Linked DNA regions of Homo sapiens: all the other regions are linked to region 3. The links are contacts of gene promoters, found by promoter capture Hi-C in blood cells and fetal thymus (Javierre and others, 2016). All regions are on one chromosome and are shown on one strand. The core of a region is centred on a gene start or on the middle of the fragment in contact, and the rest is flanking DNA. Distances in the headings are between cores, read along the strand shown.

What was found. The method cuts DNA at HindIII sites, captures the fragments that hold promoters and counts their contacts. A CHiCAGO score of 5 or more calls a contact.
Region 1: a fragment that was not itself captured here is called in contact with the fragment with the promoter of NRP2 in region 3 in 2 of 17 cell types (M2 macrophages and M0 macrophages); the score reaches 5.7 in M2 macrophages.
Region 2: a fragment that was not itself captured here is called in contact with the fragment with the promoter of NRP2 in region 3 in 1 of 17 cell types (M2 macrophages); the score reaches 5.6 in M2 macrophages.
Region 4: a contact is called between a fragment that was not itself captured here and the fragment with the promoter of NRP2 in region 3, in 4 of 17 cell types (total CD4 T cells, total CD8 T cells, neutrophils and 1 more). The highest score is 10.1, in total CD4 T cells.
Region 5: a contact is called between a fragment that was not itself captured here and the fragment with the promoter of NRP2 in region 3, in 6 of 17 cell types (M2 macrophages, M1 macrophages, non-activated CD4 T cells and 3 more). The highest score is 9.6, in M2 macrophages.
Region 6: a fragment that was not itself captured here is called in contact with the fragment with the promoter of NRP2 in region 3 in 5 of 17 cell types (M0 macrophages, M2 macrophages, M1 macrophages and 2 more); the score reaches 11.4 in M0 macrophages.
Region 7: a contact is called between a fragment that was not itself captured here and the fragment with the promoter of NRP2 in region 3, in 1 of 17 cell types (non-activated CD4 T cells). The highest score is 7.6, in non-activated CD4 T cells.

Annotation. Positions count from the first base shown.
Region 1 is chr2:204,183,068-204,187,040 of GRCh38, forward strand. No RefSeq gene overlaps it. Among named protein-coding and RNA genes, the nearest start is that of ICOS, 250 kb to the left of the region's middle. The HindIII fragment of the contact is 7,295 bases long and covers 1-3,973 here.
Region 2 is chr2:204,213,268-204,217,565 of GRCh38, forward strand. No RefSeq gene overlaps it. Among named protein-coding and RNA genes, the nearest start is that of ICOS, 280 kb to the left of the region's middle. The HindIII fragment of the contact is 9,112 bases long and covers 1-4,298 here.
Region 3 is chr2:205,679,989-205,683,864 of GRCh38, forward strand. It overlaps NRP2 (neuropilin 2), which reads left to right and starts at 2,513. Exons shown (of 17, transcript NM_003872.3): 1 at 2,513-3,375. The coding sequence starts at 3,303. RefSeq lists a silencer at 1,914-2,033. The HindIII fragment of the contact is 6,030 bases long and covers 1-3,876 here.
Region 4 is chr2:204,356,969-204,360,899 of GRCh38, forward strand. No RefSeq gene overlaps it. Among named protein-coding and RNA genes, the nearest start is that of PARD3B, 190 kb to the right of the region's middle. The HindIII fragment of the contact is 6,416 bases long and covers 1-3,931 here.
Region 5 is chr2:204,297,201-204,301,121 of GRCh38, forward strand. No RefSeq gene overlaps it. Among named protein-coding and RNA genes, the nearest start is that of PARD3B, 250 kb to the right of the region's middle. The HindIII fragment of the contact is 2,869 bases long and covers 1,075-3,921 here.
Region 6 is chr2:204,280,126-204,284,005 of GRCh38, forward strand. No RefSeq gene overlaps it. Among named protein-coding and RNA genes, the nearest start is that of PARD3B, 260 kb to the right of the region's middle. RefSeq lists an enhancer at 2,194-2,971. The HindIII fragment of the contact is 2,912 bases long and covers 805-3,716 here.
Region 7 is chr2:204,374,455-204,378,520 of GRCh38, forward strand. No RefSeq gene overlaps it. Among named protein-coding and RNA genes, the nearest start is that of PARD3B, 170 kb to the right of the region's middle. The HindIII fragment of the contact is 3,971 bases long and covers 814-4,066 here.

The DNA of each region.
Region 1 (3,973 bases), core at 885-3,384, 1.5 Mb before region 3:
ATGTATTTGTAAATAAATATATACATCTACATAAAAGAGAATTTATCATAGTTGTATTAGACTTTGGAGACAGACACATAGGCTTTTGATCCTCATTCACCTGTGACTGACAATGTGACAAGGTAGCTGCCACCCTCTCCTAACGCTATCTCTTGGAGGGCTTAACTCGTGGAGTCTCAGATTTCTTATGGGGGTTAATTCTTATGAATACTTTAGGTGGGTGACTATACCTCACAGGGTCATCGTAGTGGTTTTCAGATAACATACATAACTTACTTAGCATAGGACCTGACTTGCTAAATGTTCTCTCTAAATAGTAGCTATGATAAATTTGTATAAGAGTTCTGGAAGGATAAACCCCAAAATATTAACAGTAGTGATTTATTATGGAGGTTAATTATTATAAACATTTTTACTTTCTCTTTAATTTATTTGTATATTTTATTAAAATTTTAACCACACATATATTACTTTTTAAAATCAAGTAAAACAATAAAGCCATTTCTTTTGGGTGAAAGAACAAGAAGACTTATTACATTCTGCATCCCCTTGATCCTTGTGTGTACATATGAATAACTCAGGCGTTGTAGATTAAATTAACCATGCAGCTAATTTAAAAAAAAAAATTCTCCTCTTTTAGCCTTGGAAGCTCCATCCGCTCTCTCTCTCCATAGTTTTTCATGTGCAAAATTTGTGTTGGCTTCAGTGTGATTTTTTAGTGCCAAAACCATGATATGCTGACAAACAGGAATAACAGCATTTCTTAAATGTCCACAGTGCAAAGGGGAGAGGCATGGCGTGTTTCAAAAGATGGGTTCCTACTGTGGGAAGATGTGCTTTTTCTGAGGGGAACAGGGTAAACGCAATGATGAGGGAGTTCTGTCAGCAGTAGGATTGGGGCAGGGAGGAAGACAGCAAAGTTGAAACCAAGAGGTGAAATTGTCTAGTGGATTTGTGTCATATTTTAACACATATTTTTAGGATTAGTTGCCTTTTGAGAAAGGAAACACCTTACCTGAAAACATCTATTTAATTTTTTTCATATAAAAGTAGTATATGGTAAATGAAAATGAAGAAAATATGAGTAAGCAAAATTTTTGAAGTCAGAATCCCACCATTCAGTGGTAATGACATATTATATACACACACAGTTGCACATGTGTATACCCACACATACATCTAGGCGTGTCCCTGCCAGAACATACAGCACCTGTGTGCAAAATAGAAAAAGGCGACTCCCTTTGGGGATCAGATCAGCAAAAGATGACCACTCTGGGCAGATTTGGCAAGTAGAGAGTACTTTTTATGCAAATTAGAGAAAGAACTCCCTTTCCTCTGACCTGAAATATTCTCTTGCCAAGGCATCCATCTGGATGCCTCCGTCAGGGGATAACTGGGACAACTGCATGCAATGGCCCTGAAATGAGGATATACTCCCCCTGCATTTTTAGCATTTTATAATGTAGTATCTGATACATATAAAACAATGCATGTAGTTTAAATGCAAGTTATACGGCAAAATTTTTAAAAATTGACCTATCAACCAATTTCAGAACAGAAGCATTACCAAGATCATTGCACTTGCCTCTGTCCCCTCTACTATCCTAGACTTTCTCCCAAAGGAGAGAACTGCTATTTTATGTATGGGAACTTCATGTTTATTATTCCTTTTGAGATAATAAAGAAAGATATATATATGTATATCTCATATATATATATGTTTATCTCAAAAGAAAAAAGATATATATCTCAAAAGAAATAAAAGATATATATCTAAAAGCAATAATAAAATAAATATCAAAATAAATATCAAGAATATTTTGATATACATTTTTTTCTTTTTTGAGACGGAGTCTCACTCTGTAGCCCATGCTGGTGTGCAGTGGTGCGATCTCGGCTCACTGCAACCTCTGTCTCCCGGGTTCAAGCGATTCTCCTGCCTCAGCCTCTCAAATAACTGGGACTACAGGCACGTGCCACCACACCTGGCTAACATTTTGTGTTTTTAGTAGAAATGGGGTTTCACTGTGTTAGCCAGGATGGTCTCCATCTCTTGACTTCATGATCTGTCTGCCTCAGCCTCCCAAAGTGCTGGGATTACAGACATGAGCCACTGTGCCTGGCCAATATATATATTTTTTGATATATTTATATCAAAATATATACAGTCTTCTGTGACTTGCTTTTTAAGCTCATACTATTTTATAGCCTTGTTTTAGACTTAACAAACATCTTTCATGCCATAAAATTTTATCCTACAATATTGAAAAACTTGAAAGTGATCCATTAATTTGTTTGGACTGTAATTTAATTCCGTTATGTTAAATTTATTAAATATTAATTATGTTAAATGAACATACTTTAATTAAAAAGGCAGACTTTTATTTCCAATGTTGTTACAAAACTCTTCATGATTGTCTTTAACTTCCATCTAAATGAAATCTTGGACAACATTCTCGACTATTTTCTTAGAATGTAACTGAGCCCAGGTTCAGCTGCTCACCACTTGAAAGCCAAACACAAGACATGAGAATTGGCGGGAGGAAAAGGAGGTTTTGTTCAGAAAACCAGCAAAACTGAGACGATGGTGAACTAGTCTTCTGAAGCACCATGTTAAGTTTTGCAGGCTGACTGGAGGGTTTTTATGCTAGGGGGGATATAGGGAAGAGGAGGGGTTTGGTATCAAGAGGTGACCGCTGACCACAGACATATCTGGGTGTCAGCGAAGGTCCAAGGAGGTTGGGAACTTCTTTGCCCTTGGTCAGGTCATAGTGCTCCTGTAAATCTTTAACAAAACGTAGTTATTTACATACATCCTCTTTAATCTCAGTTAGTTTCAAAAATTACATGATTGCCATTTTTGCATTTTATTTCAGTACTCTCAAATTCTCCTAGCCTATGTGCAGGAATGGGTAAAGGCCCTTTAAACAAAATGGAGTTACTTATGTTAGTTTTTTGCTGTTTTGCTGTTACAAAAATAAATCCCTAGACATAGAATTGGTGGGTCAATGGTACATTGATTATAGGCTTTTGATGTGTATTAATACTGGTGATAATGTTAAGGTAATGAAGAAGCTGCCTAGTGGACAAGTGATAACTTATCCGAGGAATTCCATTCAGGGTTAATAGTCAAGTAAATACTTTTCAGATCTACTGACTTAAGAGAACTCCACTGTGCAGCAAACCTCACAGAGTTGTTCGCTCTGTTCTGACTCCAGAGGCTCAAGATTTACCATAATGTTATGAATAGTGGTAGTGGGTGTGGAGGTGGTCGTTTGGGGGAGAGTTCTCAAGCAAGACTTGAGCATGAAGAATCACAAAACCAGCCCATAGAAACTTCATACCTAGACCCATATGAGCCACAGAAGAGGGCAAAGGCGTCTCTCTGTACCATAGTCAAAAGGAAGGCCAGCCCAAGAAGGTGGGCACTGCAAAGAAGTGAGAGCATGCATAGTAAAAGCAGAAAGGAGGCCTTTGGATAGCCTAGCATCACCCCCAGTGCCATCCCACAATGAGCCTTCACCTCTCTGAGCAAAGAGTGAGAGAACTGAAAAGGGACAGCAGCCACCAACTTCAGCTTCAGGACCAGACAGAGAAGACCTATGATTCCTTTCCAAGAACAGAGGGACAGAAGTGGAAAAGCCAGCCAAGGACTGCATGAAGAGGCCCATCTTCATCAGAGGAGAATAGCCAACTCAGTCATTGCCTAGTTTGGCCTTCATAGATATTTAACAAACGGAAATATTGTTTATATATTAGTATATTCATTGCTTTAAAAAACACTTTTTTTAAGATCTTTCTTATTCAGGAAGCATTTCTATTTTTCTAACTGATTGAATTATTTGAATACTATGCCTAAAATCTTTACAATTGAAATGAGCATGCCTTCCTTTCTATCATGTCTGGAGATCAGAAATTAAATTTGTGTGTTAAGTAGATTGTCAATAATGCATTTCAAAAGGTCATAATGTCT
Region 2 (4,298 bases), core at 284-2,783, 1.5 Mb before region 3:
GAAACACACAAGATCAAGTATTGATCAGTTGATGAAAATGTTATGACCAGAAGATTTCAGGAGCCTAATCCTGTATTTCCCCTAGGAGCAATAATTCAGTGTTCACTAATTTCATGTTCACAGCTACTTTATAGAACATAATTACTGTAAATAACAAGAATTGACTATATTACATATGTGTGTGTATGTATGTATGCACAGAAGTCTTTAAGATGTATCCACATATTTTCTATTTCTAGAAATCCTTATTTTTTCATGTAGACTCAAGCATACCATTTTCTTTAGCCAAAAGAACTCTTTTCAGCATATTTTGTAGTGCAAGCCTGCTGGCAACAAATGCACTGAGTTTTTGTTCATGTTAAAATGTTTTATTTTAGCTTTCAATTTTGGCAGGTATTTTCACTGGGTGAAAACTTCTGGGTTAACAGTTTTTCCCTTTCAGCACTTTAAAGATACTGTACCATTGTCTTCTACCCCCCACTGTTTCTCTAGACAAGTCAGAAGTTATTCTTATCATTGTTCTCCTGTATGGAGTATCTCATTTTTCATTGCCTGCTTTCAAGATTGTCTCTTTATCTTTGTTTGTTTGTTTTTTCAGCAGTTTGACTATGATGTATCCTTGTTTATTTATTTATTTTTAATTTATCCTGTAAAGCTGTGGCTTTCTGTCACTTGAGCCTCTTGTGGAATAGGCAATACTTTCAGACTAAATACCATAAACTTGCAAATTTTATCTTTCATCGTTCCTCTTTCCTCTTTCTCTTTCTTTCTTTCTTTTTCTTTCTTTCTCTTTCTTTCCTTCTTTCTTCCTTTCTTTTCTTTCTTTTTCTTCTTTCTTTTTCTTTCTTTCTTCCTTTCTCTCTCTCTTTCCCCCCTCCCTCCCTCCCTCCCTCCCTTCCTTCCTTCCTTCCTTCCTTCCTTCCTTCCTTCCTTCCTTCCTTCCTTCCTATCTTCCTTCCTTCCTTCCTCTCTTTCTCTCTTCCTTTCTTTTTGATAGAGTTTCGCTCTTTTCACCCAGGCTGGACTGCAATGGCACGATCTCGGCTCACTGCAACCTCTGCCTCCCAGGTTCAAGTGATTCTCCTGCCTCAGCCTCCTGAGTAGCTAGGATTACAGGCACCCACCACCACGACCAGCTAATTTTTGTATATTTAGTAGAGATGGGGTTTCACCAGTTGGCCAGGCTGGTCTTGAACTCCTGACCTCAGGTGATCCCCGCCTCGGCCTCCCAAAGTGCTGGGATTACAGGTATGAGCCACCACACCCAGTCCATGGTTTCCCTTTCAAAGTAAACCCTCCCTGCAGTTTCTGCTTACTTTTAATCACTCTTCTGAGCCCTTAAATAATTGTGTGTTTGCATGTGTCTATGTGTGTGTAATAATAGTTTTCCAGATCTTACAGCTTTTTTTTTGTAAGAGAGTTAGTTTGATTGAGCTACTCTGTTATTACTCAATTCATTTGTTTATAATTGGAAACTAAGGCATGTTCTTGAAAGTAAAGAAACAGTACCATAAATACCTTATGAATGTTTACAGTGCATCCCATAGTTTTCATTTTATATCTGAGATTGACTAGCTTGAATTCTGACAGTTTGACCAATCTAAACTTAACAACAATGAAAAGAAACTTGCGGCTTATAGTAGGGTTGCTTTCAGACTCAAATAGAAATGGGACACAAAAATCTGTTAAGATTAATAGAGAAGATTAATCTCAATCTTCTTAAGAAACTTTTATATTTGTGATTTTAAAACAACTTTTCTATACATCATCACACTCTAATCAGAAAAGTAAGTAACTTGATGTTTTAGTCCTTTCATGCTGTCATAGTAAGGTGGCATAGGCAGCTTATAAAAAACAAACACTTATTTCTTAGAGTTCTGGAGACTGTGGAGTCCAAGATCAATGTGTTAGCGGATTTAGCATCCCATGAGGGTCCTCTTCCTGTTTCATAGACAGCACCTTCTCTCTGTGTCCTCACACAGTGGAAGTGAGGGATCCCTCTCAGGACTCTTTTATAAGGGCACTAATGCCTTTTATGAGGACTCTGCCCTCATGACCTAATTACCTCCCAGTGGCACCACTTCCTAATACCATCAACTTGGAGGCTAGAATGTGAATGTATGCATTTTGAGGGACACAAACATTCAGACCATAGCACTTGATTTGAATCAGAGTATTAGCGTGTGACATTGCCCATAGCTTTACTTGGAAATCACTATAGTTCTTCACGTTTCGAATACTCAAAACCCTTCTGAGGCTTCTCAGTTCTAATAATGACCTACGCCACCATGCATGATTTGGACCTTGTTTTCTGTCTAAATTATATTCTGTAATTCTCTCCTTTGGCCACTCCACTCCAGCCATACTGATCTCCTGATTTTTCTTTAAAAATACCAGGTGACCAGGCAGGCTCATACCTCAGACCTTTTTTCCTTACTGTTCCCTCTGCCTAGAATTCTCTTCCCCTAGATAGTTTCATAGCTAGTCTTCCTTTTTCAGGTGTTTGTTCAAAAGTTAGATTCATAAAGCAGACTTTCATTTCCACCATATGTAAAATTACAACTCCACCCCCGACAACAGAAAACTTTCTGTTTTAATTCCCTTATTATGTCTCTCTCTCTAATATAGTATATGCAGTTGGCCCTTGAACAACACAAATTTGTACTGCATGGTCCATTTACACACATATTTTTTTCAATAAATCTTTCTTGCCTCACCTTCTACCTCCTCCATCTTCTTTGCCTCTGTCATCCTGAGACAGCAAGACCAGTCCTTCCTCTTCCTTCTCCTCCAACTCAGCCTATTTAACATAACGAGGACAATGATGCCCAAGACCTCTATGATTATCCACTTCCACTTAATGAACAGTAAATATATTTTCTCTTCCTTATGATTTTCTTGATAACATTTTCTTTTCTTTAGCTTATTTTAAGAATACAGTATATAATACATATAACCCACAAAAGACGTGTTAATCAACTGTTTATGTTATCTGTAAGGCTTCTGGTCAACCATAGGCTATTAGTAGTTAGGTTTTTAGGGAGTAAAAAGTTATATATGGATTTTTGACTGCACAGGGGGTCAGCACCACTACCACTCACATTGTTCAAGGGTCAACCGTAGTTTCTTTCTTTCTTTTTTTATTTTTGGGGCAGGGTTCTGCTCTGTCGCCCTGGTTGGAGTTCAGTGGTGCAATCATGGTTCACTGCAGAGTCTACCTCCCAGGCCCAGGTGACTCCTCCACCTTAGCCTCCTGCGTAGCTGGGGCTATAGGGGCGTGCCACCATGCCTGGCTAATGAAAAAATTTTTTTTTGTAGACTTGAGGTCTCCCTATGTTGCCCAGGCTGGTCTCAAACTCCTGAGCTCAAGTGATCCTCCTGCCTCGGCCTCCCAAAGTGCTAGGATTACAGATGTGAACAACCACGCCAAGCACGCCCAGCCTAGTTTCTTACTTATCTTATTTTCTAGATTTGTTTGCCAGTGTTTTACTAGAACATACCTCCACAAAGTTAGCATTGTTTATGTGTGTTAATCATGGTATCCCCATACCCTTTAATGTTACCACGCACACATTAGTGCTAAATAATTTGTTGAATGAATAAATAAATGAAACTCCCTTGAAAGTTTCTGGAATACTGTTAAGCAATTACCATCTAGAACTTTCTCAGTTGACTTACATGAACACAAGCAGCTTTTGCTATTACAGAAGTATGAGATTAGTATTTTCAATTCACAGTTGTATTTTCAATTCACTTTCTACATCGGGAAATGTTGCTTTTTATTTCACCATAGGGGATTTCTACATTGTTATTACAAGACAAATATTATTATTATGAATATCACTGAAACCCAAAATTTAGTCTAATAAAAACATATTTATGCTTTGACCAATGGTCCATGGTAATAGTACCTTGTTGGTCTTGTTATAGCAAAATTTCCTCATATATATTACGTGTATGCAAGACACACACACACACACACACACACACACACAATCTCAGTACAATCAATGTTCCATTACTGGTCCTAGTGGCTTGTTATAATGAAAACATCTAACACCTGACTGTGTAACATAATGCAAACTGGAAGAGAAATATAATACAGTGGCTCTAGCTAGTGTAGTACAAATAAAGAGTAAAATATAATTGTCCTTAAAAAATTACAAGAAATTGTAATTGCCTTGGTTCTCTGGGGAATAAAACCAAAAGGGAACATGTCAGAGGGCAAAGAGAATTGACTTCTGCAAGCATACATTTCTGCCTTGGTCTGCATGCTTGGGCAGCTTTAATGAACCACC
Region 3 (3,876 bases), core at 1,263-3,762:
TCTGGGCCGGTGGGGTCTTGTTCAGAGTAGGCTGGGGAGAGATCGGCCTCACTCTGAATCTTCCCTGGTCTGATAAAGCACTTTGAACTCCTTGGAATTAAAAGCACCACCAGAAGTGTGACCCTGGGTGGTGTTACCATTATTTATTGAGTGCTGCCCCCTAGAGGATTGAAAAATGGTCTGGCCGCTTGAGTCCCCAGGGATGGAAACCTGAGACTCACTCTCTGTCCAACTGCAGGAAATGAGGCCTTCACTCAAGGGGAGTGGGAAGTCTTGCAGCCCTGGTACAGAGGACTCCCAGGAAGTAAGTGAGCGTCCCCTGTAGGACACCGCTGAAAAATGAAAAGTTACAGTGTAGGCAACCAGGCCAGGAACAAAACTGATTCTTACTTTTCTCTACTCTGGAAGCAGCCTGATGGGGACCTTCATCCCTGAGACCCCAAGACCAGAAGTCCAGGGTTGTCATTCTTATGGTTCTCCAGTGGGCTTAGGTTTACCTTTTCTCTCTTCTTTCCCCCTTTCACAGTGCCCTTCACCTAAACCCTGGCTACATTATTCTCACAAACAGGAGTCTCCCACATTGGGCACTGGCAAAAATGGTTTGGCATGCCTGGTGAGTGGTGGGGAGAGGTGATATTAAATGGCCCTCTCTATTCAGGGACTGTCACTACAGATAGCGTTCTTTGTCCTTAGATTAGCATCTTGGCAATGACATAAACCGGGATCTCTGCTTAAGGTTAATAATCCAAACTGCTCTTTTACTTTGTTAAATATTTAAGGCTTGGAGTCATTCTTTACAATTGAGCTTTAAAGAGGAGAAATGTAAATCTGGAGTTTTTAATAATGTGGATGTGCTCTCAAGCCTAGAAAGGAAGGAAGAAGGAAGGAAAGGAGGGAGGAAGAGGAAGGAGGGAGGCAAAGAGGGAATGAAAGGTAGCATTTAGGCTAGCCAAGAGACATGCTCCCTGGAAGAACTCAGAGGCCTCTGTGCTGTGCCTTTCCCAACCAGGCATCTGAGATTAACAGTGTGATACTCAGCCTGTGGATTTCCACTCTAAAATCCCGCGCCACCCCCCAACACAGCTTGGCTCAACTATTTGCAAATCACTTCTGATTCAATTTTGTTTTGGTTATCTCAGTGTAAATAACAGTTAAGTGGGAGTTACAGATTTTTCAAACACTAAAAGTGATAAAGCTAATGGGCAAGTCCAGATAAGGAGGGAAACCACCCAGAAGAATCCACAAGTACAAGCCAAGAAGAAAATGGGTAGTCAGGTGTGTGTTTCTCGTCACCGAAACTGTATTTTTCTTAATCTACAGAAAATTTTACTTTCTTAATTTAAAAAAAATCTTAATCTGTAAATATTTTTCTGAATTTTCTTATTTTTCATATACCTCTTTTGTGGCAGAAAAGGTGTACATGTGCAGGGTGTAATTTAGGCTGTTTCTGTTGCAGTCTTTATGATAATGTAGTAATAGGTGTCTGGTGAAGCAAGACAGTTTGGAATCCACAAAGCCATCCTCAGAAACAAAGATACAAGTGTTTCCCCAACTGTTAGCTTGCAGTTCCCTCTAAACAGTTTTCACGCCTCCATTTAAAAATAGTTGGCATAATGATGTTTTCTTTCTCTAGGCTTTGTGACCACGTTTCCATGGGGGAAAATGTGAATAGACGTAGTTACAGTAGCATTTGGATGAGACGCCTTCAAGCACCTATACTTTTTCGGGGGAACTTGATGGAATCCAATTTAATTACCTGAAGAAATTATTTGCTGAAGAAAGTCTTTCCTCTTTTTAGGGTAGTTACAGTTAAAGGCGCAGGGGTAACGAAATCCTAACCCAGAGAGGAGCAGAGCATGTTTGGGACATAACAAAGGATCTGAGTAGTAAACGCAGCGAGTGTTTGGGGTTTTATTCAGACCGGGCTGACGGTGTGTGTCGCCGCCACGCACCGCTGCCTGTTCGAACGCATGGCTGAGCTGCCGACCGGCTCGCTACCCCAAACACCGTACGCCACCCAACTCCTCTTGTAACGCCATCGCGCGTGGCATTGTGTTGGGTTCTGCGTGTGTGGCATCGGAGTCGTGGAATTTAGGGGGAACAAGGCTTTTCCCCCCGTCCCCCCGGGGTCTCCCTTGGGTGGGGGCGACACGGCCAAGGCGGCGCGCCCTGGGGGTGCCCGGGGGCGCTTCTTCCCCAGGGCGTTACGCACCGGCGGCCCGGCGCGGAGGTGCGCGGGGGCGATCGGGAGATGCGGGGCGGGCGAGGGGTGGTGGGATGGGCGCCGCCTTAACTTCGATCCTGCGGCGGCCCGAGAGAAGCCGTCGCCGCCCCGCCCGAGCTGGGTGCCGCGGCACTCTGCTCTGCGCCGCGCGTCTCCGCGGCTGCCTCTTTAATCAGGAACACAGAAGGGGCGGGCCCTGAGCCGGCGCGTAATCGGATAGCTCTGCCGCGGCTCTGACATCCACATGCTGCTCGGCCTGAAAAGGCAGTGGGGAGCCGGAGGGGAGGCAGAGATCGCGAGCGAGGCACCAGCCTGCAGCCGGCCCCCAGCACATCCTCAGCCGCACAGACACTCGGCGAGGTGGAGGTGAGGGCGGGCGCCAGCGAACTCGGAGAGGGGCTCGCTCACTCCCAGGCGATCCCAGCCGCCACCGCCGCCGCACCAGCAGCAGCAACAGCAGCAGCAGCTTCCTTCCTCAGACTCCCCTCGAGAGGCTGGCCAAGCGGGTGTAGCCGTTGGGGGAGGCTCCCGCCGGGGGAACCCGGCGAGGACAAGAGCAGGGCGGCCGCCTTCCACTCGGGCTGTCCGGCGGCGGCTGCCTCCGCCCGTGTGTCCGTCAAGGGTGCCGCGGGATGTGTGTCAGTTTACGCCTCTGAGATCACACAGCTGCCTGGGGGCCGTGTGATGCCCAAGGCAAGTCTTGGTTTTAATTATTATTATTATCATTATTGTTACGCTTGGCTTTCGGGAAATACTCGTGATATTTGTAGGATAAAGGAAATGACACTTTGAGGAACTGGAGAGAACATATATGCGTTTTGTTTTTAAGAGGAAAACCGTGTTCTCTTCCCGGCTTGTTCCCTCTTTGCTGATTTCAGGAGCTACTCTCCTCCTGGTGAGGTGGAAATTCCAGCAAGAATAGAGGTGAAGACAAGCCACCAGGACTCAGGAGGGAAACGCTGACCATTAGAAACCTCTGCATAAGACGTTGTAAGGAGGAAAATAAAAGAGAGAAAAACACAAAGATTTAAACAAGAAACCTACGAACCCAGCTCTGGAAAGAGCCACCTTCTCCAAAATGGATATGTTTCCTCTCACCTGGGTTTTCTTAGCCCTCTACTTTTCAAGACACCAAGTGAGAGGCCAACCAGGTAAGCCACTGAAAGTTTTTCTATTTATTGCAACATGGTTTCCCCTTTAAAAGTGACCGCTAAAGCAGGAAGGCCACGCAGAACGGCACAGAAGAAGGCTCCCTCAGTACTCAATAATTTAAAGAGAGATCCCAGCCGGCCCTTCCTACACCACCACGGCTGCTAAAACCCAACTTTCCTCTCCTGCTAGGAGTGTGTGTGTGTGTGTGTGTGTGTGTGTGTGAGTGTGTTTTGAAACAGAATTTGGCGGTGTTCATATGTCACATATGGACTGAATCAAAGGTTTAAAAATACTACAAAGCCTTTGCATTACAGTTTTTGGGAATTTTTTTTCCCTGTCTTGAAGCAGAACACATCTCCCTTGAGTTTCTCCAACTAGCCAGTGAAATATAAATCATTTGCATTCCCTCCACTTAGCTACATTGAGCAATGTTAACTGAAGGGCTTGGGAAAGACAAGAGTTTAGTTTTGGTTTTCAGATGCTGTAGATTCTTTGGAGAA
Region 4 (3,931 bases), core at 525-3,024, 1.3 Mb before region 3:
CAGGATGAGGCAGCCCAAGTAAGGAAGGCAGAACAGAACAAGGGGCAAAGCAGAAACCAGCCTCACCTGCAGCCACGTGTCCCTAGAAAGAAACAAGGAGGCAGAATCAGTTAAACGTGCTGACGGCTATCTACCTTCAATCATGTGAAAATACTTCCGACATATTGGGCCCAAATGCATGGCAAACGAACATCAGTAAAATTCCCTTGCTCTCCGAATCAAAGGCCTCACCTGTTTGAGGTAAATTGGCCCTTCCGGGCAGATGTCTTGCTTTATTTGATGGGCAGCCATCCACGTGGAAGTGGGTTAAGGACAAAAGATGCATCTGGTTGCCCTGAAGGAAGGGCCAGGTTGCCCATTAAGTGACAAATAAAGATGGCCTCTCCCTGTTATCACCCCCTGCCCATGAAACGAGGAGAGAGCCGCTTGTCTTGCCCACAGCCTGTGCAGAAGCAACAGACGGATGGTGAGAGTGTCAACCGTGGATTCCGGGCTTAATTGTAGTCCTTTTGCTTAATGAGGTTTCGTGAGGAGGAGGAGGTGGGGGATTGGTGTGTGCTCCTGTGGCTGAGGGTTATTTAATTAAAAAACAATAAAGCTGCCAGCTGCCGCTGGTTAACAATCTGGAACCCTCCCTTTCTTCCTCCCAGACGTGAACACAACACAGAGAGATAAAGCCTCTCTAACCGGCTTGTGAGCTGAGGCCCTGTTAGCACCCCCAGATCAAACCACCCCATTTTCTTCCTAAGCTCTCTTTGGTTGCCAAAAACATTGCTAGCTGATCTATGGAGAGTTAAAGACCCCCCTCATAGCTAAATTACAAAAAAGAAAACAAACAAAACTCCTATTCACCCCTTCTCCTTGGTGCTTGTTTTGAGACCAAAAAAATGTACCCTGGAGGCTGGGCGCGGTGACTCACGCCTGTAATCCCAGCACTTTGGGAGGCTGAGGCGGGTGGATCACGAGGTCAGGAGATTGAGACTATCCTGGCTAACACGGTGAAACCCTGTCTACTAAAAATACAAAAAAAATTCGCCGGATGTGGTGGCAGGCGCCTGTAGTCCCAGCTACTTGGGAGGCTGAGGCAGGAGAATGGTGTGAACCCGGGAGGTGGAGCTTGCAGTGAGCTGCGATCTTGCAGTGAACCAAGATCGCACCACTGCACTCCAGCCTGGGCGACAGAGCGAGGCTCTGTCTCGAAAAAAAAAAAAAATATATATATATCTATATAATATATATATATATAATATAAATATATATAAATATATAATATATAATATACATTATCTATAATATAAAAATATATAATATAATATACATTGTCTATAATATAAAATATACATAATATATAATATACATTATCTATAATATAAAATATATATAATATATAATATACATTTTATATATATATACACTCACACACACCCTGGAAATGGACACAGGGGAGGTGATGCAGAAAGGGGGTATCTTCCAGCTCCTGTCTCCTGTGTGTATCCTGATATGAACACATGGACGTGGAGGCTTTCCCAGGAAGGATGCATAGTCTCCTACCAACAGGGTTTCTGTCCTCTGTGTCCAGGGCTTCACCACTTCCAACAGTCACCTGGGGAATTTGCTTTAAAAAAATACCACTTCTCCCAGCACTTTGGGAGGCCGAGGCGGGTGGATCACAAGATCAGGAGTTCAAGACCAGCCTGGCCAAGATGGTGAAACCCTGTCTCTACTAAAAATACAAAAATTAGCTAGGCATGGTGGCAGGCACCTATAATCCCAGCTACTCGGGAGGCTGAGGCAGAGGATTGCTTGAACCCTGGAGGCAGAAGTTGCAGTGAGCTGAGATTGTGCCATTGCACTTCAACAAGAGCGGGACTCCATCTCCAAAAAAAAAAAAAAAAAAAAAAAAAAAACACTTCTGAGGCTCTTCCCTGGAGATTCTGAATAAATTAGTGTCTGAACCTGTATTTTTACCAAGGGCCTTCATTGATGTTTCTGATCAGAAATGTCTGAAAAATTATCTTCTCATTACCTGTTTACCCGAGGGACCTGAGTGGAGACTAGAGAGAAGGGAGTGAAATGGAAAGTTCCTTCAATGCAGAGTGTTTAGCCTTGCGTATATTTCTCAGTTACCAACAAAGGCCCAAAGCCTGTCTGTGATTTTTCTGTTTAAAGAGCTCCCCCATCTCCTAACACCTCCAGCTCAGCTAGGGAAAAGCAATGTAACAAAACTGCAGGGTCTGTTTCTAGGGGGTAAAAACTAGCTACTGATTAGCTGTGGTATCTTAACAGCATTCTTGTTTGAAGCATCCCTGTGGCAAATTATTAACACACTAGAGTGAGGCTTAAACCAGGAGACCCCCATCTCCTTACTAATTAATCAAACTTCAAAAGTTCACTCACTAGTAGGTGACAACCATGTCTTTTTGCCTGAGGCTGTGTCAGTTTTAGCACTGAAAATCCCTTTCTGGGAAACCTCTCAGTCCCAGGCAGACCAGGGCATGGATCACCTCTAGTAACCAGCTCACACTATTGGTGCCTCTCTTGGGATTATTCAGCTTTTCTTTCCCCCTATCCTAGATGCATCATGAATTTCACAGGGGAATTGTGAATCTGGGGATACTCAGGCCTCACGCATGCATTCTCTGCATCTCACTTAGCACCTTCCTCAATTTTCTCTTCTTCAGCACCTATCAATTGGCTAAAGAGCCAGCTTATTCTCTTCCAATTGGCTATAGACCCCACTTATTCTCTTCCCAGCTTCCAATTATCTTTTCCCCTGCCTAGTAAAAAAAGCCCTATATTCTCCAAATCGAGTTCTCTGATGACTTTTGATGTCCTTTTAAGTCCACCAAATAGGCTGGCCTAGGATTAAATAATCTTTGGAATCGCATTTTATTTGCATTTCAAATGTACAATTTGCATGGCATTTGCTTATGCCTCAGTCAGATTGGTTCAGATCTCATCCATATTTATTTAGGGGGAGGGGAAGTATAAGAGCAAAATATTGTGGACTCCTGGTCAGAAAAGCTGACTCCAGATCCTGGCCTTGACATTTATTTGATCAGCAACCTTAGATCAATCAGTTTTGCTTTATGAAAAATTGAGATGGTTGAATTATTTTCCTTCCTAAAAATTATATGCTGAAGTCCTAACCCCCAGGACCTCAGATTGTGATCTTATTTGGAAATAAGGTCATTGTAGATACAATTACTTAAGTCAGGATGAAGTCATACTCATCTAACTCACACTCTTCATTTTGGAGTAGGGTAGGTCCCTAACCCAAACTGACTGGTGTCCTTATAGAAAGCGAAATTTGAAGACAGACACGCATGCAGGGAGAACGCCATGTGAAGTGTGGGGTTACACTGCCACAGGTCAAGCAACTCTCAGAAGGCAGGACCAGAAGGTAGGAGGAGAGAAATCTGGAAGGAACAGACCTTTTCCTTGCACCTGCAGAGGGAGCACGACATGCCAATGCCTTGATCTTGGACCTGTACACCTTGGAGTCTCCAGACTGTGAGGTTTCTGTTTAGAAATAAATTTCTGTTGTTTAAGCTACTCAGTTTTTGGTACTTTTAAATGGTAGCCCTACTAAACTAATGTAAATGGTAACACCTACTTCATAGGATTTTTCTGAGAATTAAATATATAAGAATATTTATGTGAAAGTACTTGGTACATAGGAGTCATTAATGAATAGAAGAAAAAAATAATAGAGAGAGACAGCAGTGAGTTACCAGAAAATGACACCCTTGGAGTTACAGTATCAAAGTTCAAACTCCCTTTCCTTCTCTGTTATACCTTATATGGCAACTGCAAACCACTTCAACCTTTCATCTCTTTGATCCTCATTTCCTCATCTGTAAAATGGATATAATAGTACAAACTTCCTAGGGAAGTTGGGATGATTAAGTAAGAGAACAAGTGAAACTAC
Region 5 (3,921 bases), core at 1,259-3,758, 1.4 Mb before region 3:
TTTTTTAGCAGTGATCTTGCATGTTGGTTGAAAAACAAAATGGATATGCATAGATCTTTCTTGCTGAAATGAAGATTATTATAATGCTTCTAATATACAACTTCCTATGTCTCTAAAATTCTACCTACCCACTGTTTAACTTAAAAAAAATGAATTATTATGCAATCAAAAATTATGTTCTATGATCTCTACTTTAAAAAGAAAATAATACATTACACAGTCAAACATTTAATAATTAGGTTTTTTAGGAAGTGAATAAGTAAATTAATTACTTTATTGTGGCATATTTAACTGGATATTTCAGATATTTAGCAAACAATTAATGTGTCTGGATATGGTTTTGGGTGCAGACAGTCTATGTAAATAGAAAAGCATTGTTTTTCATGGCAAACATTCCTCATTATAAGTTTGTTCCTAGACAGAAAATGTAATACATTCTTTGATGTACACAGAGTTTCAGAGAAAGGAATAAAGGAATTTAGATAAAACTTACGGGGGAAAGTCAGTTATTTATACTTCTGTGTTTTATTTCTCAAGGAAATAGATTTGAAGAAAGCATAGTTTTACACCATTAACAGCTGATACGGATAAGATAGAGTTGCTTGATAGCAAAGAACAGATAGGAAAAGAATCCATCTGTCTAGAAAGATCTTCATGGAAATGGATAAGTAGTGCCTATTCGGGAAAAAATTACTACACATATAATATATTTCTGGAAGGTTTATGTGAAAAACATATTTCCTGTCAGTTTCTTGTTTTCTTTTTAAAAAAGAAGCTTCTTTTGGGCCGGGCACGGTGGCTTACGCCTGTAATCCCAGCACTTTGGGAGACCTAGGCAGGTGGATCACCTGAGGTTAGGAGTTCGAGACCGAGCTGACCAACATGGAGAAACACCGTCTCTACTAAAAATACAAAATTAGCCGGGCGTGGTGGAGCATGCCTGTAATCCCAGCTACTTGGGAGGCTGAGGCAGGAGAATCACTTGAACCTGGGAGGCAGAGGTTGCGGTGAGCCAAGTTTGTGCCATTGCACTCCAGCCTGGGCAACGAGAGTGAAACTCTGTCTCAAAAAAAAAGCTTCTTTCTTCAGTTTTTTTTTCTTCCATGACTGCATTTAGAAAACAGTGACAGGGTAAGTGCATTTGGGCTCTTTAGATAGAATCAATTCTGGATTTCTTTTATTACTTTGTCACAGTGCTTCAATGATGGTTCTAGATTAGATAAATTGATCACATTTGAGGAGGGTTTCCTGCAATTCACATATGAACACACACGCACACATATGCTCACACATACACATACTCACACATACATGCTCTCACACACTCCAAACATTCTAACCCAAAGCTGTCTTTGCTCTTTGCTTTCAGCATGGCTTCCATCCAGAGCCAATTACAGAAAACAACAGCTCCTCAGCACTATTGCCAACAGTAATCTCAGGGAAAGAATTGCACCTACTCAAGCCTGAGAACATATTCAAGAAGTTAATTATTTTCCTAGTGTAGTCCTTGGAGTAGCCTTTTTTTTTTTTTTTTAACTTTTTCCCTATAAAGTGCCATGGGGTATTATTCCTGTGGAACATATGGGGTACTATATAAAACCAAGTTGTTGCTGATTTTACTTGAAATCAGTTTTTATTTCCTGTTTTATGTCTACTTGTTTACAGCACCTTGAAACATCTTCTGTGTGTTTGCCCGGTGCTGAGGGCTTCGCAGTCAGAGCTGAGTCTCCCTGGTTCCTGGTTAGCTCACTTTGGAGGGCTGCGTGTCCCTGCGTGTCGAGGGAAGGAAAGAGGTAATGCCAGAAACTAATTTTCAAATAAAATGGCAACATGATTGAAACGTATTCCTCTAAATTCAGTATCAATTAAGTTTAATGGTCACAAGTCTTTCATCGATTTATAGAGCTGTGTATATCATGATTTTTAGAGAGAACATTACTCCCTCGACAGCTTTCTAATTGAGAAAAGGATTCTATAGCACAGAGACCTTCGATTAATGTTCTATAGAGATAATTTGTAGCTTTTTGTTCTGCTGGTCACTGCGCCAGTCATACACCGACTTCACTTAGCAGGTTTGGGAAATTTAGTTGCAGCCACAGCAAACAAAGCCCAATAACTGTGTTCTCCATGACAGCAGAAATCTAAAGAAATAGTTAGTAACTGATGGGGCTTTTGTTCTTGTCTCATTTCCCATTATGGCAGATCCTCAAGGTAGTATGGAAATAGCAAATTTCTAGTTGCTATTTACACAGATAACTGCCCCCAAAAGACCAAGTAGAAAAAGTAGCCAATGGATTGTGCCATTGGTTTTATTCAGGAGCATGTTTCTAGAAATGAACAGGTTTAGGACTTACATAGGCCTGGGTTCCATTGCTGGCTCAGTGATACACTCGATGTGGACAACGTGACATAATATTGATTATTCATTATTGGCTTTGGAAGTCATGGTGAGTAACTTACATACAGTTGCACAAATCAGTGTCCTTACGTGGTAAGCACTTATCAAAGGAGACTTCCCGCTCTACTTCCTAACATCTGAGGGTCAACGTTTACTACACTTATGGGATGCAGTGACTTCCATGTGAAGGGTAACCAGTTAGAAATCTCAAGAAATGGGTGAGAGTGGCATGGGAGTGTCCCTACACCACCCGCAGATGATTACATTCTAGTTGCCTTCTGGCTTTTCTGTTTTTTATTGATTGTTGGCAGCATACCATTGCTGGACTTAGTGATTGCTTACAAACTCAGCTTCTCCTAAGAACTAACAAGCAAATTTGAGCTTCCCAAGAATGCAGGGTGGTGACTAAAATGCCAAAGGCATGAACCAGTTAAGCTCTAAAGAAGTCCAAAGACAGAAAGCAAAAAAAAAAAAAATAAATAAATAAATAAATAAAATAAAACTGAGAAAGATGGAAAATCTAGTGACACCTCAGGACTTCACATACTTCCTTGGGCAAGGCAGTGTCCCAAAATTCATGCTGGCTCTGATGGAGGGAGGGGAGAGCTGGGACAGCAGCCACCACATGGCACTCTTGGAGTTCCATGCCTTGGTGCATCACACAGAACTGGATTTGGACCTCATCTCTGCCACTGGCAAGCTGTGTGAGCTTGAGGAAGTTATTTAACCTCTCTGGGACTTGGTTTCTATCTCTAAAAGGAGTACTTTCTTCATAGAATTGCTTTGGGGATTAGGTAAGAAAATGCATTGAAAACAAAAGGCCTAATGATGTGAAAAGTATTACAATTAAGACTACTGGCTTAGAGAGCTTCAGAAAATCTCTCCAAGGTTCTATCTCCTCTCTAAAATGATTATGATAATGGTTCCCACCTTTTCAGGCTGTTGGAAGGATTATGAGCTAGCTCATGACTAGCATTTACAAATATTCCCTGGCATATATTAGGTTCTGCATAAATATTAGAAATTTATGTCCCCCCTATTTTCCCATTCCCTGGACCATTTGCTTTTTTCTCTACATACCCACCCCCTAGCACCATGCTTGAACTCCTGTATATGTCTCTCCTCTTATGTCCAGCTAGTCTTCTACAAAGAGCCTTAGAAACCAGACTTCAAATGGACACCATGGCTTCCTAGTGGGGTAATTCTCCTATCTCTGCCCCGATAGTCATGATCAGCCATTTTTAGGCTAATTTCAGCTTTTCCTAGGAGCAATAGCCATTAGCCAAGTAAATGTGACATCTCACTCTCTTTTATAAAAGTGAGAAGAGTGCTAAAAATATTGCTGGTTATTTCACAGTTAATCGGCTTCCCTTGAAGAGGTGGTATGCCTCTGTCCTTGTGGGGAGTCTCATGTTCACTTCTGGTCACCTTGTTTCAAGAGAAGTGGGAGTGAGATTGAAAAGTGCTGGAGAAGGGTATGAGCTTGCTTAGAGGTGGAGGACGATTTACGTACTATGATAGGC
Region 6 (3,880 bases), core at 1,011-3,510, 1.4 Mb before region 3:
TGAGTAATAGGTTTAAGAGGTTGAAATCTCTACTGTTTTGTGAAGATGGCAGAAATCCTTCCTTCTTTAGGAAGAAATTTAAAAGCAAAGATGCTGGAGTGAGAAGACTTTATATATTTTACTCCTTCCTTGAGTGTACATGTCTCACCTCTAGGACATGTGGATTCCACTTATCTGTGGAGAGAAGGGGTTGGGGAGGCTTCATTGCCAGCAAGCTGTGTATTAGAGATTGGGAGGGTGTTTGGATTCCCTGATACAGCTGGCTGGGGACCCCTTACCTTGGAGATAAACAGGAAAGTGAAAAGTCTGGGCTAAATTTTGCTCTGTCACTGGTCAAATTTCTCCCAGAGTTGAAAATGGCATTGCTCTTCCCAGGCTGTTGAAATGAGATAATGTCACATCCTGAATGAGATCACTAGGTCATAATCTCCTCCTCATTGTGATTTTCTTGGCATGTCTGAGAATTACTGGGTGAAGGGGGAAAGGATGAGCATGGATTGAACAAAACCATTCCTTTAATTAAGCTCACAGCCTTGTCACCTTCTGCTCTGATCTCATCAGATCTCAGCAACTAAGCGGGGTCAGGCTGGGGGTGTCAGTGAATGACTCTGTATCGGTGGCATGTACCATTCAGTTGAAGCCTTACACCTTCCAGGCAGGTGTGTGCTGCTCTGTGGGCTTTGCAGTAAGGCACATTAATAAGGCGACAATCCTAATGTGCTTTGGGCTCTTGGAAAGGTTGGCATGACATAAATGAAGGTGTTTCAGTTTCTCTTACCCCAATTAAGAGACCCCTGGAGACAAAGCTTCTTTCACAAAGTCAGACACAACCTGTAGTCAACTGAGAGAAATTCCAGCCTTCTCAGATGTTGGGAGGGTGGAAATGATCATCAAGATTCAGTATTTAGGATATCACTTTTGGCAAACAAATCCCCACTCCTGGCCAAGGAAATGGTTGAAGACAGGAGGGTTTAGGGCTCTATGGTAGGTTTTGATCGCTTGGATGGTGACAGAAACATGCTGAGACTGACTGTGGCAATTGCAGATCTCATTAACTGGTTATGCTACTATGATGATATTATTACTGCCGTGTCCACCTACCAGAGCTACCTTCTCTTCAGACAAAGAATCCTCTACCACAGCCAGCTGTGGCTTTGGCCCTAACCTCAGCAGGGAACCCAAGTGACTGTTCGTCACCTTCTGCTTGGCTAGAGGCAGATCTAGCAGCAAACGATGCCTATGTCTTAGCCTCCATGTCCAAACACTGGGATGTCGGTGCAAAGGTAATCGTGGGGAAAACAAGACCATTACTGAGAAGAAAGAGCAAGAGTTAGCATCTGCCCCAGTCCTGGGAAGCATTGGCCAGCTTCTCCAGAACTTACCCTCTCATGGTAAGTTCACTGCACCTCCATGTCCTGAGACCTTCTACATGGCTGGCTTCATCATCTCATTTCATCTGTTACCTCTGCAGATTTCTGGAAATAAAGTCCAAAGTAACAGTCTATCCTTTCTGGACTGACTTTCAATCCCTTTTGTTCCTGTTGGGGAAAATGGCATGCATTGGCATTTCGGTTAGTAAATAGCCTTACCGTTGATGCCCATGCATTCCTGGAGGGGAATGAGGAAAAAGAGGCCAGGTGGAAGGGAACAAATGGTGGATTGTGATTCCAAGACACTGTGTCCCAACTTTATCTCAGAATGGTCCACCAAGATACCATGTTTAGACCAACTATAAAGCAAGTGAAGACACCTGTCATTTTATTATTTCATTTAATTGCTCCTGGTTCATTTCTATGCTGCCTTACTTTCACCGCAGGCTTCCCTCATGATTTACCTTTGGCCCTTTGGCTGCAGTTGCCAGAACCTGGAGAGAGTAGCTTTAGAGAGAAGGCTGTCCACCAGGAGCCAGGCCTTCAATCTAGGAATACAGCGTCTCCAAACTGTGGCTCTGGATCGGCAGGATGAACTCTTATTCTGGAATTTATTTCCAGAAATCTGGAGAGGTAAAGGGTGAAAAGAGATGATAATGATGAAACTGGTCATGACATAGAGAATAAATAACAATTCTCCATCTCTTCTTACTCTCTCATCTCCTGACAGTGACCTCCACTGGCCAAACCCAACCCAACACCCAGCGGGAAAGGGAGCCCACTATCCAGACTCACCCTCATGGGGCCTAGAGCAGGTGGGGAAATAGGTCTAGGTGCAGACGGAGAATATCAGAAGAGTCTCCACTCTGTTGACTGTTTTGTTAGTTTGTTTGATTTTTGGATCTGCTCAGAGATCCAAAGGGTTACGTTGAAAGTAAACACAACCCAGGACAGGAGGACAATTTTTACTCCTCCAAATAAGTGTATAGGTTTAGCATACGCTCCATCAAAAGCCCCCCAGAACTGAGTCAGGGAGAGAGAGGTGCACTCTATAAACTTAGCCTTTGGTCTTCAGAAGTATTTCATTCTAACACAAGTTTGCCTACAAAGCTGCTTTTACATTTTAAAAAGTCCCCAGTGTATGGCCACTAGCTCCAGATGTGTTAATAGCGCCAAAGCAGCTCACAACAGGCTCCTTGAGTTACTGAATAACAGAACTCAACAGGCAGCTAAGCCTTCCGACCACACACTTTCACCTTTACATGCTCTGAGTCAGCTTTCAATAGGCATTAAATTCTCCCTTTGTTTTCATTCCTTGCTGCCGTAGCTCTAGCAGGGACCTGTGAATAGCCGGGCTATGCTAAGTACCCTTAAATATAGGTCTTTGAGAAATCTCTGTGTATATGTGAGTTCCATACATAAGTAATGTCCAAGGAGGAGGTCAAAACACTGAAATATTGAAATAAAAATCAGGAGGCTTTAGTCCTACTCCTGGTCTATAAATCTTTTTTTTTTTATACTTTAAGTTTTAGGGTACATGTGTGCAACGTGCAGTTTAGTTACATATGTATACGTGTGCCATGTTGGTGTGCTACACCCATTAACTCGTCATTTAACATTAGGTATACCTCCTAATGCTATCCCTCCCCCCTCCCCCACCCGACAACAGGCCACGGTGTGTGACGTTCCCCTTCCTGTGTCCATGTGTTTTCATTGTTCAATTCCCACCTATGAGTGAGAACATGGTCTATAATTCTTGACTAGCCCTGCAGGGTAACCTTGGACAGACATCTTTACCTTCCTAAGACTCATGTTCTGCTGCTCTAAAATAGAAAACAGAGTCCTGTTATCACAGAAGAGATGTGGGCTGGAAGAGACCCACCTCCTTAACCTGGGCTTTGCTGAAAGCCAGCAGTCCTTTGAGGCTGAGGAAAGGTGAGTTTTATTGTACTGTTTGCTCCCAGGCAGCTGCTTCCAGAGGATTCATGGGTTTACAATTTAAGAGACAACCAAGCATGAGGATAGAACTTCCATTAAATGGCGCCCATGTTTCTGGTACCACGACAAGCCATTAAACCATACTCTCTGGCTAGGTTTATTAATGTCCACATCTAAAATTTTGTACATTGCTCCATATCCTACTGCAGTTTAGAGTCATCTCCTGAGTATTTCACGGTGAGTTATTTACTTAGTGTGACAGGAAAGGGATTAAAAATGCTCCATGTTACAAAAATCATATCCTCGTCTTCTGCATGTCCACACGACACACGAGAAGGAGGAAGAGTGTGAGCTCCAGGACAGTATCCAAAAACAAGTTAAATTGAACTCTCCTTAGCTCTTCTTCAAAGCTTCAGGCTGCTGAAACCCATTTTCTATCCTTCTCAATATTTGTCCTGCTGATGCGTTAATAGAAGCTTGTTTTTCACAATATGTTCACACCACCAAAAGCATTCAGGGAATTCCTAGATCACCTTAAATTTTTCCTAATTCAACATCTTCTGGAAGGAAAA
Region 7 (4,066 bases), core at 1,549-4,048, 1.3 Mb before region 3:
CTGGAAGAGGTTACGCATTGGCCCAAAAGCCCCAAAACTCTATGAAGCAGGAACAATGTCTGTTTTTTGTTCATCGTTATATACACAGCATCCGAATACCAACTCGGTAGCCAATAAATATATGTTAAGAGAGAAAGTGGGGGAAGGGGTGAGGTGGAGAGAGAGCTAAAGAGGAGAAGCAAGGAGGGACTTTAGAAGGAAATTTAAAAATTACTTGAGAAAAACTAAATTCACTCTCTAAAGTGAACCACACACGGCAAAATCACAGTTAAGTGTAAACACACAGAGCACAACATAAATATTGTAAAGTGCTATTCTACTGTTGGCTATGTATCATCCCTTACCAAGGCTTTGGTGAAGGTCTTGGGTTAAGTGGTATTATCAGGTCATAATCTATCTCCAACCCAGATCCCTTTCTTGAAGATACTGCACTGGCACTGGTGCTTTGGTGTGAATTTGAAAAATCTTTCAGGGGCCGGGCACAGTGGCTTACGCCTGTAATCCCAGCACTTTGGGAGGCTGAGGTGGGTGGATCACGAGGTCAGGAGATCAAGACCATCCTGGCTAACACGGTGAAACCCCGTCTCTACTAAAAATACAAAAAATTAGCCCGGCGTGGTGGCGGGCGCCTGTAGTCCCAGCTACTTGGGAGGCTGAGGCAGGAGAATGGCATGAACCTGGGAGGCGGAGCTTGCAGTGAGGCGAGATTGTGCCACTGCACTCCAGCCTGGGCAACAGAACGAAACTCCATCTCAAAAAAAAAAAAAAAATCTTTCAGTTACTCTGTCCGAGTAAATGAACACTCAGCCCCTAAGCTTCAGTCTTTCTCTCTCAAGGGTAAAGAGTTCAGTAATGTTACTTCTCTACACAAGCAATGTCTGGTTTCTTCTTAGCTGTTCTTACCCAAAACCATGTTAACGTTGGAGCAGTGGGAGTCCCGCAGAGCAATATATTTATAAAAGAGCTCTCTTCTCTCAAAATATCTTCTGCCTTTGTATCAAAGGAGTGGCATAGATATTCTTGGCTTTTGGAGCACACATACTCACAAAGAGTGTCTTTGAGGCTGAATGCATCCCCTTCACTGAAATTCTCTTTCTTCTATAATTGTTCCCTACCTCACTTTTAAATCTTACTTTGGCTTTGGAGCAATGGTTTAAAAGTGGTGGCAACTGTTCAATGAAATGTTGCCATATGACTTTTCCAATTAAGAGTTTTGTGGCAACTACAGATGCATTAAATCAGGAAATGGAATAATGGAAAACCTGAGCTAAAAAGATTATATGAAAGATAATCTAATATAAAACTTTTATTTTACAATCGACTTAACTTAGTCCTTAAGAAACTGGGGACCCTGCCTAAAATTACAAATGAAACCAGTGGCAGAACAAAGAGAAGAATTTTAGTGAGCTATACTCCAGGCCAGGTGTTTTTTTCTATATAATATGTATAGTAAAGGCAGGTAAGACCCGATAGGACATGGCATGACAGCCAATGAGGCTAAGGTCAAGTTTTTCTGATATTTTAGACTGGAGAGACCTGAAGGCAAAAGTTGACAGGGTTGTAGAGCGGTGAAGTGAAAGGTCTTTGAATTTCTGTTTGAATTCCCCATTCAAGATTAGTTATGTGACCTTGAGAACAATGGACTTTTCCAATCCTCAGTGTTCTTATCTGTTAAAGGAGCATAATAAGGGTGCCTATGTCATACAGTTATGAAAACTAAATAGTAATGCATACAAGCAAATAGCACAATGTCTGCACATAGCAAGTACTCAAGATAGTAGAGACCTATCTTAACACATTTAACCTGGGCTAATTCAGCCTGACATACATCCTCAACAGAACAAGAAAAAAGAGAAATAAATATCCATTTATTTGTGTGTGTGACTTGGAGTAAGCATGAGAAGGGATCTATGAGTTTGTGGGTCCCTCAGTCAGTGTCAGCCTCTGCGTGCCTCTCATACCATGAGCATCTCTATGCCCCCTAGAAGGTCTTTATAAAGTATATGTTTGTTATACATCAAGTCCTTTAAATGGAAGCCAGAGACTTCATCTGGTGCACACATGAAGAAACACCAATCTGCTTTAATATAGGAAGAACAACTAAAGTTAGGCTTATGCGGAATTGCGGTTTGTTTGGTCTCCAGCATGACTCTCTAAGATATCAAGGAGAAAAACTAATAAAATGTCATTTTTGCCTTAGGCTTTGACTTAATATCTGAATTCCTTCATAAGATACATTGGCACTTTAAATGCCATCATTGTCAACATCATCATCATCATCCCCATCAAACATCATCTCTACTAATAGTCTGTCAAAACTTTCTATTGTCACTTGGAAAACCCCTCTTTTGGCATTGTGCTCAGATTTCCCCTTAAAAGATTACACTTAAAGCATCAACCTTTTTCACACATTGTATAATCAGAAGCATTTTGAGAACATCTTGGGAAGAGATGCAGCAGATCTTCCAGGCCATCTCAGCACATATTTAGTGACCAATTCCAGGGCCCTTTGCCCCTCTTTCAGGGTCAGGACTAGGGGAGGCCAGTGAGGCACTTGCCTCAGGCACAAAATTTAAGGCAGCACAAAGAACTCAGTAGTCACATAAATGGTATCTTAACACAATATTTTGAAAAATAAAAATTATGCAAAAAATACATGGTGAATAAAATATCAAAATGTTAAAGACAAGACCAATGCTACTGCCTTTTTCTCTCGTATCTGACCCCAAATGGCTTGACCCAGCATTGACTTTGTGTTCCTGGGTCCTGAGCACTCCTCTGAGTATATCCCTATAATGTTTCAACCCTTCAGAGACCCCAATGTGATTGCAGAATCACAAGATCAGCTCAAGTTAGTTATGGATTTCACAAAGTGTATTCTATAAGTCAGGCACTATTCTAAGTGCTAGAGATAGCATAGTGAATAACTAGACAAAAACCCCATCTCCATGGGACTTGCATCTAAGTGGGAGGAGGACATAGAAAATAAATAAATAAATAAATAAATGAAATACACAGTAATTCAGATACATTAGACAAAGGTGATATGGAATTCTATGGGTGGAGCTAGGAACTGAAATTTTAAATAGGGTGCTCAGAGAAGGCCTCACTGAGAAAGTGACATTGAGCAAAAACCTAAAAGAGTGAGGAAGCAAGTGTTGGGTTATCCAGAGGGAAATTACCCCATGCAGAGGGACCAGCAAGGGCAAAGGGCCCGATGTTGGGTGATATGGTTTGGCTGTGTCCCCACCCAAATCTTACCTTGAATTGTAGCTCTCATAATCCCCATGTGTCATGGGAGGGACCCAGTGGGAGGAAACAGAATCATGGGAGTGGGTTTTTCCTGTGCTGTTCTTGTGATAGTAAGTCTCATGAGATCTGATGGTTTTATAAAGGGCAGTTCCCCTGCACATGCTGTCTTGCCTGCCACCATGTAAGACATGCCTTTGCTCCTCCTTTGCCTTCTGCCATGATTGTGAGGCCTCCCCGGCCATGTGGAACTGTGAGTCCATTAAACCTCTTTTTCTTTATACATTACCCAGTCTCAGGTATGTCTTTAGTATGAGAATAGACTAATACAAAGGGGTTTCCAGGATGGGGCCATGAAAAACAGCAGCTTCACTGTCAGAAAGGAGGGCTTTATGTAGGTGGGAGGTAAAATTCCATGCCTGTGAGAAATTGGCAATAATGAAGTAGATTTCTGGAAGAAGGAGCAGCCATATGGAGGTGATAATACTGGCAGGAAAGTGGGAAGGAATACAAAACAACGCTGAGTCTGGGGAAAACAGGAACCTCTTCTCACTTTTTATGCTCTTTCTCATTGCTATAGTTTGGATATTTGTTCCCTGAAACCTCATGTTGAAGTTTGATCCCGAATGTTGGAGGTGGTGCCCCATGGAAGGTGTTTGGGTCATGGAGGTGAATCCCTCAGAAATAGATTATACCCTCCCTGGGTAGTGAGTAGTTCCCGAAAGAGCTTGTTGTTAAAAAGAGCCCACCCCCATACCCCCAACCCGCGGCTCTTGCTCTCCCTTGCATCCACTCTCACCATTTGATCTCTGCACAC